Linked DNA regions of Homo sapiens: region 1 is linked to region 2. The links are contacts of gene promoters, found by promoter capture Hi-C in human tissues and cell types (Jung and others, 2019). All regions are on one chromosome and are shown on one strand. The core of a region is centred on a gene start or on the middle of the fragment in contact, and the rest is flanking DNA. Distances in the headings are between cores, read along the strand shown. Region 1 has its middle 42 kb from the start of FTMT. Region 2 holds the start of FTMT (ferritin mitochondrial).

What was found. The method cuts DNA at HindIII sites, captures the fragments that hold promoters and counts their contacts. A contact is called where the count stands out against the background at its distance.
Region 1: a fragment that was not itself captured here is called in contact with the fragment with the promoter of FTMT in region 2 in 1 of the 25 tissues and cell types used here (adrenal gland).

What each region holds. Positions count from the first base shown.
Region 1 is chr5:121,891,041-121,895,787 of GRCh38, forward strand. No RefSeq gene overlaps it. Among named protein-coding and RNA genes, the nearest start is that of FTMT, 42 kb to the left of the region's middle. The HindIII fragment of the contact is 5,740 bases long and covers 1-4,130 here.
Region 2 is chr5:121,849,027-121,853,758 of GRCh38, forward strand. It overlaps FTMT (ferritin mitochondrial), which reads left to right and starts at 2,856. Exons shown (of 1, transcript NM_177478.2): 1 at 2,856-3,807. The coding sequence starts at 2,938. The coding sequence ends at 3,666. The region is part of intron 3 of LOC105379149 (a long non-coding RNA gene); the gene reads left to right. The HindIII fragment of the contact is 10,616 bases long and covers 1-4,732 here.

The DNA.
Region 1 (4,747 bases), core at 11-2,510, 40 kb after region 2:
AAGGCATTATTCAGAAAATCAATTGAGTGAGAGTGGGCAAACATAAATAGAAGTTCTCACTCTGGTCTGTGGGACTGTTTGTGGATTGAAGGTGGGGTTTCAATGGGGACCCACGCTGGTCTGCCTGGGATTTTTCTGCCTCCTGCCTCTGTTACAATCACTGGAATAAAACATCTCCTGGACCAAATACACAAGATTGAGAAAGTTTAAATTTAATAATAATCATGTAAAATGCCCCACAGTGAAAAAACTGCTTATAATACATGTCGAGATAAATAAATGTTTAACCTTTTGACTAAATTTAAAGTGTAGCAATAAAAATGGCTTAGTAGGCTGCAAAACAGACAAGAAAAGGAACTCAGCCCCTGCTGTTTGAGTCAAGTTTTTCTCCAGAAACTTCATTAACAGAAGAAGCGGTGCTGATGCTCAGCACTATTTCATGCTTTGGCTGTGTCCACCCACAGAGGCATGAGTAGATTTTTATTAGACATAAATTAGATAAACTGAAAATATTTTGGGCTGTCTGTCAAAGAAAAGTGTCAAAAATCATTACATTACAAGAAGAAGTGTTATTTGAGTAGATGCCATAAAAATGACTGTAACTTTCAAATCAGCATTAAAGCCTACACATGATAACAAGATTTTACTCTTACAGTTGCCAATATTTGCCTTAATAAGTGAATAATATCAATTGAACAATCGGGAAGGGTAACAAATAGGTAAAAGAATCTAAAAATAGTTATGTTAGTTCAAATTCAGAGACAGTGTTTAGATAAATGGCCAATGTTTAACATGCTACTCCCCATTAATTAAGACTTGGTAGATTGTTGAAGATGTTAATGAAACCTGGGAAATCATCAACAGTAACCTACTTTTCAAGTTGAATATGCTCAAAACCTGAAAGACAATGGAAAAAAAGAATAAATTACTGAACCAATGATGTAAGAAATTGGGTAATATGTCTCACATGTTGTAACGACACCCAAAAGCTCAAAGTAAATTGATGGAGTAAGATTTAGCATGCAAACAGGAAAAAAAAATGGGATTCACTATTCTTATATCAGATAAAATGATTTTAAATAAATAAAAATTAAGAACAAAGAAAGACATCACATAATACTAGAGGGTACAATCCAACAAGAAGACTTAACTATCATATATATATACATATATATATATATATATATATATATATATATATATATATATATATACCCTCAACATTGGAGCAGCCAATTTATAAAACAAGTTTTTCTTGGCCTCCAAAAAGACTTAGACAATGACCCAATCATAGTGGAAGACTTTAAAACACCACTGACAGCATTAGACAGATCATTGAGGCAGAAAAGTAACAAAGAAATTCTGCACTTAAACTTGACATGTGGCTAAATTGAACTAATAAACATCTACAGAACACTCCACTCAGCAACCACAGAAATCAATACCAAGTATATTTCTCAAAACTACAGAAATTCATGGAAATTAATCAACTTACTCCTGAATAACTTATAGGAGAACATCAAATTTAAGGCAGAAATCAAGAAAACGTTCTTTGAAATCAATAAAATTACGGACACAATGTACCAGAACCTCTGGGAGGCAGCTAAAGCAATGTTAAGAGGATATGTATAGCACTAAATGCCTTCATCAAAAAGTTAGATCTCAATTTAACATGCTAACTTCGCACCTAAAGGAATTAGGGGGAAAAAACTCAACCCCAAAGCTAGCAGAAGAGAAAAAAAATAACTAAAACCAGAGAAGAACTGAATGAAATTGAGATGCAAAAATCTATACGAAAAATCAGTGAAACCAAGAGTTGGTTCTCTGAAAAAATAAACAAGAGTGATATATTGCTAGCTAGATTAACAAAAAAAGAGAGAACATACAAATAAGTACACTCAGAAAGACAAATATGACATTACAACTGATTCTACTGAAAAACAAAAGATTCTCAAAAAATGCTATGAACACGAATTACAAAATCTAAAAGAAATGGATGCATTTCTAGAAATGCAATCTCCCAGGGTTGAGTCAGGAAGAGATTGAAACCCTAAAATAGACCAATATCAGGCTCTGAAATTGAATCAGTAATAAAAATTCTACTGACCAAAAAAGCCCTAGACCAGATGGAATCACAGACAAATTCCACCAGATGTACAAAGAAGAACTCATACAAATCCTACAAAACTATTTGAAAAAATTGAGAAGTTCCTCCTCCCTAACTCATTTTATGATCGCAGCATCAGCCTAATACCAACATTGGGCAGAGACACAACGAAAAAAGAAACTTCAGGGTGATATACATGATGAACATAGATGCAAAAATCCTGAACAAAATACCAAAAAATGGAATCCAGAAGTACATGAATAGGTTAATACACCACAATAAAGTAGGCTTTATTCATGGGATGCAAGACTGGTTCATTAGACACAAATCAACAAATGTGATTTACAACATAAACACAATTAAAAACAAAACCATAAGGCCATTTCAACAGATTCAGAAAAAGCTTTCAATAAAATCCGACATCTCTTCATGACAACAATCTTCAACAAACTAGGCATCAAAGAACATACTGCAAAATAATAAGGGCCATCTATGATAAACCCACAGCCAGTATCATACTGAACTGGCAAAAGCTGGAACCACTCCCCTTGAGAAATAGAACAAGAGAAGGATGCCTCTCTCATCACTAATACTCAGTATAGTACTGGAAGTCCTAGCCAGAGCAGTCAGGCAAGAAAAAGAAATAAAAGGCATCCAAATTGGAAAAGAAGAATTCAAACTCTCTTTGCTGATAATATAATTCTATGCTGAGAGAATCCTAAAGACTCCACTAAAAGGCTTCTAGAACTGATAAACAATTTTAGTAAAGATTCAGGATACAAAATAGATGTTCAAAAATTAGTAGAATTAGGAAAAAACAGATGCTGGAGAGGTTATGGAAAAATAGGAATGCTTCTACACTGTTGGTGGGAGTGTAAATTAGTTCAACCATTGTGTAAGACAGTGTGGCAATTCCTCAAGGATCTAGAACCAGAAATACCATTTGACAGCAATCCCACTACTGGGCATATACCCAAGGGATTATAAATCATTCTATGATAAAGATACATGCACACATGTGTTTATTGTGGCACTATTCACAATAGCAAAGACTTGGAACCAACCCAAATGTCCATCAATGATAGACTGGATTAAAAAAATGTGGCACATGTACACCATAGAATACTATGCAGCCATAAAGAAGGATGAGTTCATGTCCTTTGCAGGGACATGGGTGAAGATGGAAACCATCAGTCTCAGCAAACTATCACAAGATCAGAAAACCAAACACCGCATGTTCTCACTCATAAGTGGGAGCTGAACAATGAGAACACATGGACACAGGGAGGGGAACATCATACACTGGGGCCTTTGTGGGGTGGGGGGCTAGGGGAGGGATAACATTGGGAGAAATACCTAACGTAGATGATAGGTTGAGGGTGCAGCAAACCACCACGGCACATGTATGTATACCTATGTAACAAAACTGCACATTCTGCACATGTACCCCAGAACTTAAAGTATAATTTAAAAAAAAAGAAAGAAAGAAAGTTTGCGGCCCTTAGATCCTTTCAAGAGCATTTCATGGGCTATAAAAAAATTTGACAATGGTTGATCTACCTCCTCACCCCAAAAAAAAGGTTAGGAAACTACAGATACTGGAGAGGATGTGGAGACATAGGAACACTTTTACACTGTTGGTGGGATTGTACACTAATTCAACCACTGTGGAAGACATTGTGGCAATTCCTCAAGGATCTAGAACCAGAAATAACATTTGACCCAGCAATCCCATTACTGGGTATATACCCAAAGAATTATAAATCATTCTACTATAAAGACACATGCACGTGTATGTTTATTGCAGCACTTTTCACAATAGCAAAGACTCAGAACCAACCCAAATGACCACCAATGATAGGCTGGATAAAGAAAATGTGGCACATATACACCATGGAATACTATGCAACCATAAAAAAGGATGAGTTCACGTCCTTTGCAGGAACATGGATGAAGCTGGAAACCATCATTCTCAGCAAACTAACACAAGAATGGTAAACCAAACACCGCATGTTTTCACTCATAAGTGGGAGTTGAACAATGAGAACACATGCACACAGGGAGGGGAACATCACACACTGGGTCCTGTCAGGGGATGGGGGCCTAGGGGAGGGACAGCATTAGGAGAAATACCTAACGTAGATGGCAGGTTGATGGGTGCAGCAAATCACCATGGCACGTCTATACCTATGTAACAAACCTGCATGTTCTGCACATGTACCCTGGAAAAAAAAAAAGAAAAGAAAATACACTGTTCCTGTTTACCACTATATAGGTGTCAATAAGTTACAAAATTATGATATTGATCAAGACATTGTTCATCAATAAACTGGCTCTGTAGGGTGTTATGAAATTAGAAAAGTATTTTAAATTATGAAAAAATGTGCCAACTTGGTGTTTTTATTTTTCTTCATTCATCCACTTTATATTTGTACCATAAGGAATAGCATAGCTACCCATAGATGATTAGGGTCCCCTTTTACATTCAGGAATTATGAGGTTGATGCTTCACAATAACCCTTAGAGACAAATAGGAGATGGTTATATAATATGATCTCAAAGTGCATCATGATGAAAAGTAATGGCTCCACCTCTCACAAGCTGTGAAATTAAGGGCAGTGGTTATAACCTCTCTGAACC
Region 2 (4,732 bases), core at 1,606-4,105:
TAAGACCTACCACATCCTTGCATTTTCAAAGTCTAGCAAATTATATGACAAGTTTTGTAATATGAAGAAGAAATATTTTTGACAAATTAACATAATATTTCAATGTGTATTGTGTTTAATGGCATTTCTGCATTACATTTCATGTATTACATTTGTTTTATATCTATGCATTTTATTACTTAGGGGATAAACATTTATATGAAGAGCATCAATTTTCCTAAAACGCTAGTAGCAGCAGTCAACATTTAATACTACTCTAAACAATCATTTTCATAACCTCTCTTTAGGGTACTATATTTTAGGAAGAGAAAAATTTGGGGGAAAATAAAATTAAAGATGGGTGTGTTGAAGTGAAAACTAGTGAGAAATTACCTGGTGAATATCAATCACCTTCTAATAGCAAAGTTTAAGTGCAACTAGATCTTAAGCATCCCTTTTATTTACAGGGAAATAATATAATGTAATATAGCTTTTAAGAAGCTATATGAGAGCAGGGAGCTTACTAGTAAACTACAAGTTTGACACTCCCATATAATACAAGAATTTTCACCTCACTACCCATATATTATAGCAACAATATAATATCTGTAAACATCCTTTGTAAGCTGTAAAGGTCTTTTCATATTCAATAACAATAATACTTGCTTACTGAATAATTAAGATAATTAATTTTGAATAATTAAACAGGAATTATCCAATAAAAACTACTAAAGGGCATTCCAAGTGCTTATCCTGTGTCAAGCACTGTGATAAATGCTCTGTATGCATTCTCTTATTTAATTCTTTCAACCACCCATGGGAGGTAAATAGTTTTCTCAATTCACAACTAAGGCAACTAACCTAGAAAGATAATCTGAGCTGACCAAGGAGATAAGGGAAAGTAATATAGACACAGTAATATACAGATAACATAAAGAAGACCTAAACAGAAGCAGTGCTAATATCAAAGACAGATAATAACCATAAGAATCAAACAACCATAACAAAAACAAATAGCTCAATATATGAATGGACAAAGATTTGAATATACACTTCACCAAGAATATGTGGTTGACAGAAGGCAGGTGCAAACATACTTCAATGCAAATTAAAAACACATTGAAACACCAGCACACAGTCATTAGAAATTTTTAAATTTTAATTAAAATTAAATGACTGACAATACCATGTGTAAGCATAAAATGTGAAGGAACTTGAACTCTTAACACTCTGCTGATGGGAATGTAAAATGCCATAATCACCTTGGAAAACAGTTTGGAAATTTCTTTAAAAAGTAAACATATACCTATCATGTAATCCGGCTTTTCCTACAAGGTATTTTATCAAGAGAAATGAGAGCATCTGACCACAGAAAGACTTGTACAGGAATGTCTATAACGACTTCATTTTAATAGCCAAAAACTATAACAACAAAAATGTCCATCATCAGATGAAAGGATAAACGAATTGTGGTATATCCATACAATGGAATACTACTCAGCAATAAAAGGAACTACTGAAACAAGATACAGTGTGGATGGAACCTAAAATAATTACACTGACTAAAAGAAAGCAAGTAAAAAGGAGCACATACTGTTGACTCTATTCACATGAACTATCCGCAACTGCAGTTTATTGTATGTCAATTATATATCTCTATATAAAGCTGTTTTATATGTCTGTATTCGCTTTTGTGGGTCTGTAATACACGTTTTTCATTTTTTTAAACCTCTGAGCATTACCATCAACATTTTAACAATAGTAATCTCGGCAGAAGACGAATTAGGGTTGTTTTGAACTTTCTTCTGCGTGCTTACCCTTTTTTCTTCAGTACCCTGCAACAATTACATAAATACTATTTTAACACTAAATGCTATTTAAAGTTTAATTTTTAAAGAGCTATTTTAAGAGGATATAATCTCTGCACTAAGAAAAGATGGGAAAGTAACATATTTTGAGTTCAGAGGCATTTTATTCCTCCTAGGGTTTCTACGGTATCTCATTTCTCATTCTTTCTTTCTTTTTTCTTTTTTTTTTTTTTTTTGAGACGGAGTCTTGCTCTGTCGCCCAGGCTGGAGTGCAGTGGCTCGATCTCGGCTCACTGCAAGCTCCGCCCCCCGGGTTCACGCCATTCTCCTGCCTCAGCCTTCCAAGTAGCTGGGACTACAGCAGCCTGCCACCACGCCCGGCTAATTTTTTGTGTTTTTAGTAGAGACGGGGTTTCACCGTGTTAGCCAGGATAGTCTCGATCTCCTAACCTTGTGATCCGCCCGCCTCGGCCTCCCAAAGGCGTGAGCCACGGCACCCGGCCTACAGTATCTCATTTCTTTACAATGAAGATACATTTTATGTTTAAAAATAAACTATGCATGTATTTTAAAAGAAACAGAGTCTTAAAAATTTTCCCACTATGCTGGCAATTGTTTCCACACTTACATGTTAAATAACCAGTTAATTTATGTACACTTGCTTTGGATGTGGACCTTTATTCTCACAGGTAAATTGGTGACTTTTGGTTCACCCTTTTCACTGTGTTGCCAGTCCAACTCTTGGTCCTTATGAAAAGGTCAGAGAAGAAGGGGGAGTACAGCTTGGTCCCTTCTTTGGGAAGTCCCAGGGCCTACTCTCCTGACAGCCTTTTTAACGCAGGTGAAATCAGTGACAATCGCCAAAGAGCAGAAATCTCACGTCGTCGGTGGGGGCGAATGCTCACGGAATCGTGACTGGGCATCTGCGCTGGCCTCCGCCTAGACTGCGCCCCACGCGGGTCCCCAGAGCCCCCGGCGGCGCTTCCCCAGCGCCCTCCGCGTGGAACCCCGCGCCTCTGGAACAGAAGGGGCGTGTGACGCAGTCACCGTTGCCTAGGGCCACGTTCTGATCAGATCTGACGCCTCCAGCGCCCGACCCCACGCCAAGAGGGCCGGGCCTCAGTTTCCCCACTTCCAAGGAGGCGGCGCTATGCTGTCCTGCTTCAGGCTCCTCTCCAGGCACATCAGCCCTTCGCTGGCGTCTCTGCGCCCGGTGCGCTGCTGCTTCGCGCTCCCGCTGCGTTGGGCCCCGGGGCGCCCCTTGGACCCCAGGCAGATCGCCCCCCGCCGCCCCCTGGCCGCAGCCGCCTCCTCCCGGGACCCTACCGGGCCCGCCGCCGGCCCCTCTCGGGTGCGCCAGAACTTCCACCCCGACTCCGAGGCTGCCATCAACCGCCAGATCAACCTCGAGCTCTATGCGTCCTACGTGTACTTGTCCATGGCCTATTACTTCTCCCGGGATGACGTGGCCTTGAACAACTTCTCCAGGTATTTCCTTCACCAGTCCCGGGAGGAGACCGAGCACGCGGAGAAGCTGATGAGGCTGCAGAACCAGCGAGGAGGCCGGATCCGCCTGCAGGACATCAAGAAGCCGGAACAGGACGACTGGGAAAGCGGGCTGCATGCCATGGAGTGTGCTCTACTCTTGGAAAAGAACGTGAACCAGTCGTTGCTGGAATTGCACGCTCTAGCCTCAGATAAAGGTGACCCCCATTTGTGCGATTTCCTGGAAACCTACTACCTGAATGAGCAGGTGAAGTCTATCAAAGAACTAGGTGACCACGTGCACAACTTAGTGAAGATGGGGGCCCCGGATGCTGGCCTGGCGGAGTACCTTTTTGACACACATACCCTTGGAAATGAAAACAAGCAGAACTAAGCCACGAGCTGCCTTCCTCCCAGGCTAGTGGATCCAAAGACCAAAGTCAGCTGTCTCCTGCTTTCTTGCCCTTAAAATCACCTCCATCTTTATATTCTTCTGTTATACTATTCCTCCAATAAAGTGATTTGTAGAAAAAAATGTTTTGCCCATGTTTAACAAGGGCTTTTTACTAACCATCAAGGCAGTTATTTTCCCAGGCTCGAAGATAGCACAGGTAACTATGGTATAGAAAAAGACTCCAAAAAGCTACTGAAAGAGGGTGCAAACTAACGTTCTCCAGTTGCCAAGTATTATCAGAATATGAACCTACACTTAAATTCTGTGATTTTTAATTCAACAAGTGCCTGCCATATTCAATACCTTATGCAAAACGCTAAAGTGGGAAAATGGATAAAAATATACAAATAACTATAAGTGAAGAATATTTAGTACTGTGAAAATTATACATGCAAAAATGCTATGACAGCTTTTGCCTTTTCCCAGTGTGTCCCAAGAAGCAGTACTGTCTGGAGATCGTTTTTTAAAAGAATTCGTAGTCAAATTTGGGATAAGCTACATGAATTATCAGTGTTAGTCTTGGAAAATCACAGCATATATTAACATTTTAAGGGCTCTGGGAAGTTTTGCAGTTAATAAATATAAAAGCTTTAATTATTTTTGTTTAGCTCAGTGTTTTCCAAACATATGCAATCTCAGTGTTTTGTTGTTTTAATGTTGGTAATATAACAAACCAGACCTGATTCCACACTCTATATACTTCACCATTGAGTCTCTCTTTTAACCTGCCAAGAAGAGTGAAAACACTGCATAAAACACCTTTCTGTGGTCTTTAAAATGGACAGAAAAGAACATGGGGGTTTAAAAAGTCAAGAAGGGATCCAGAATAGAGGAGGCATCTAGTCAGGTAGATGTTTTCTTTAGGCATGGAAGTGAGGAGTGGGAGAGTCCAGCATTGGAATAGACTAGAACACTGAGTGGTGATTGGAAAGATGAGCTGCGGCAGAGTACAGAGGTGAGAAGGGTTTGGGCTTAATTCAGGGGACAAAAGCAAGGTCTTCAAAGG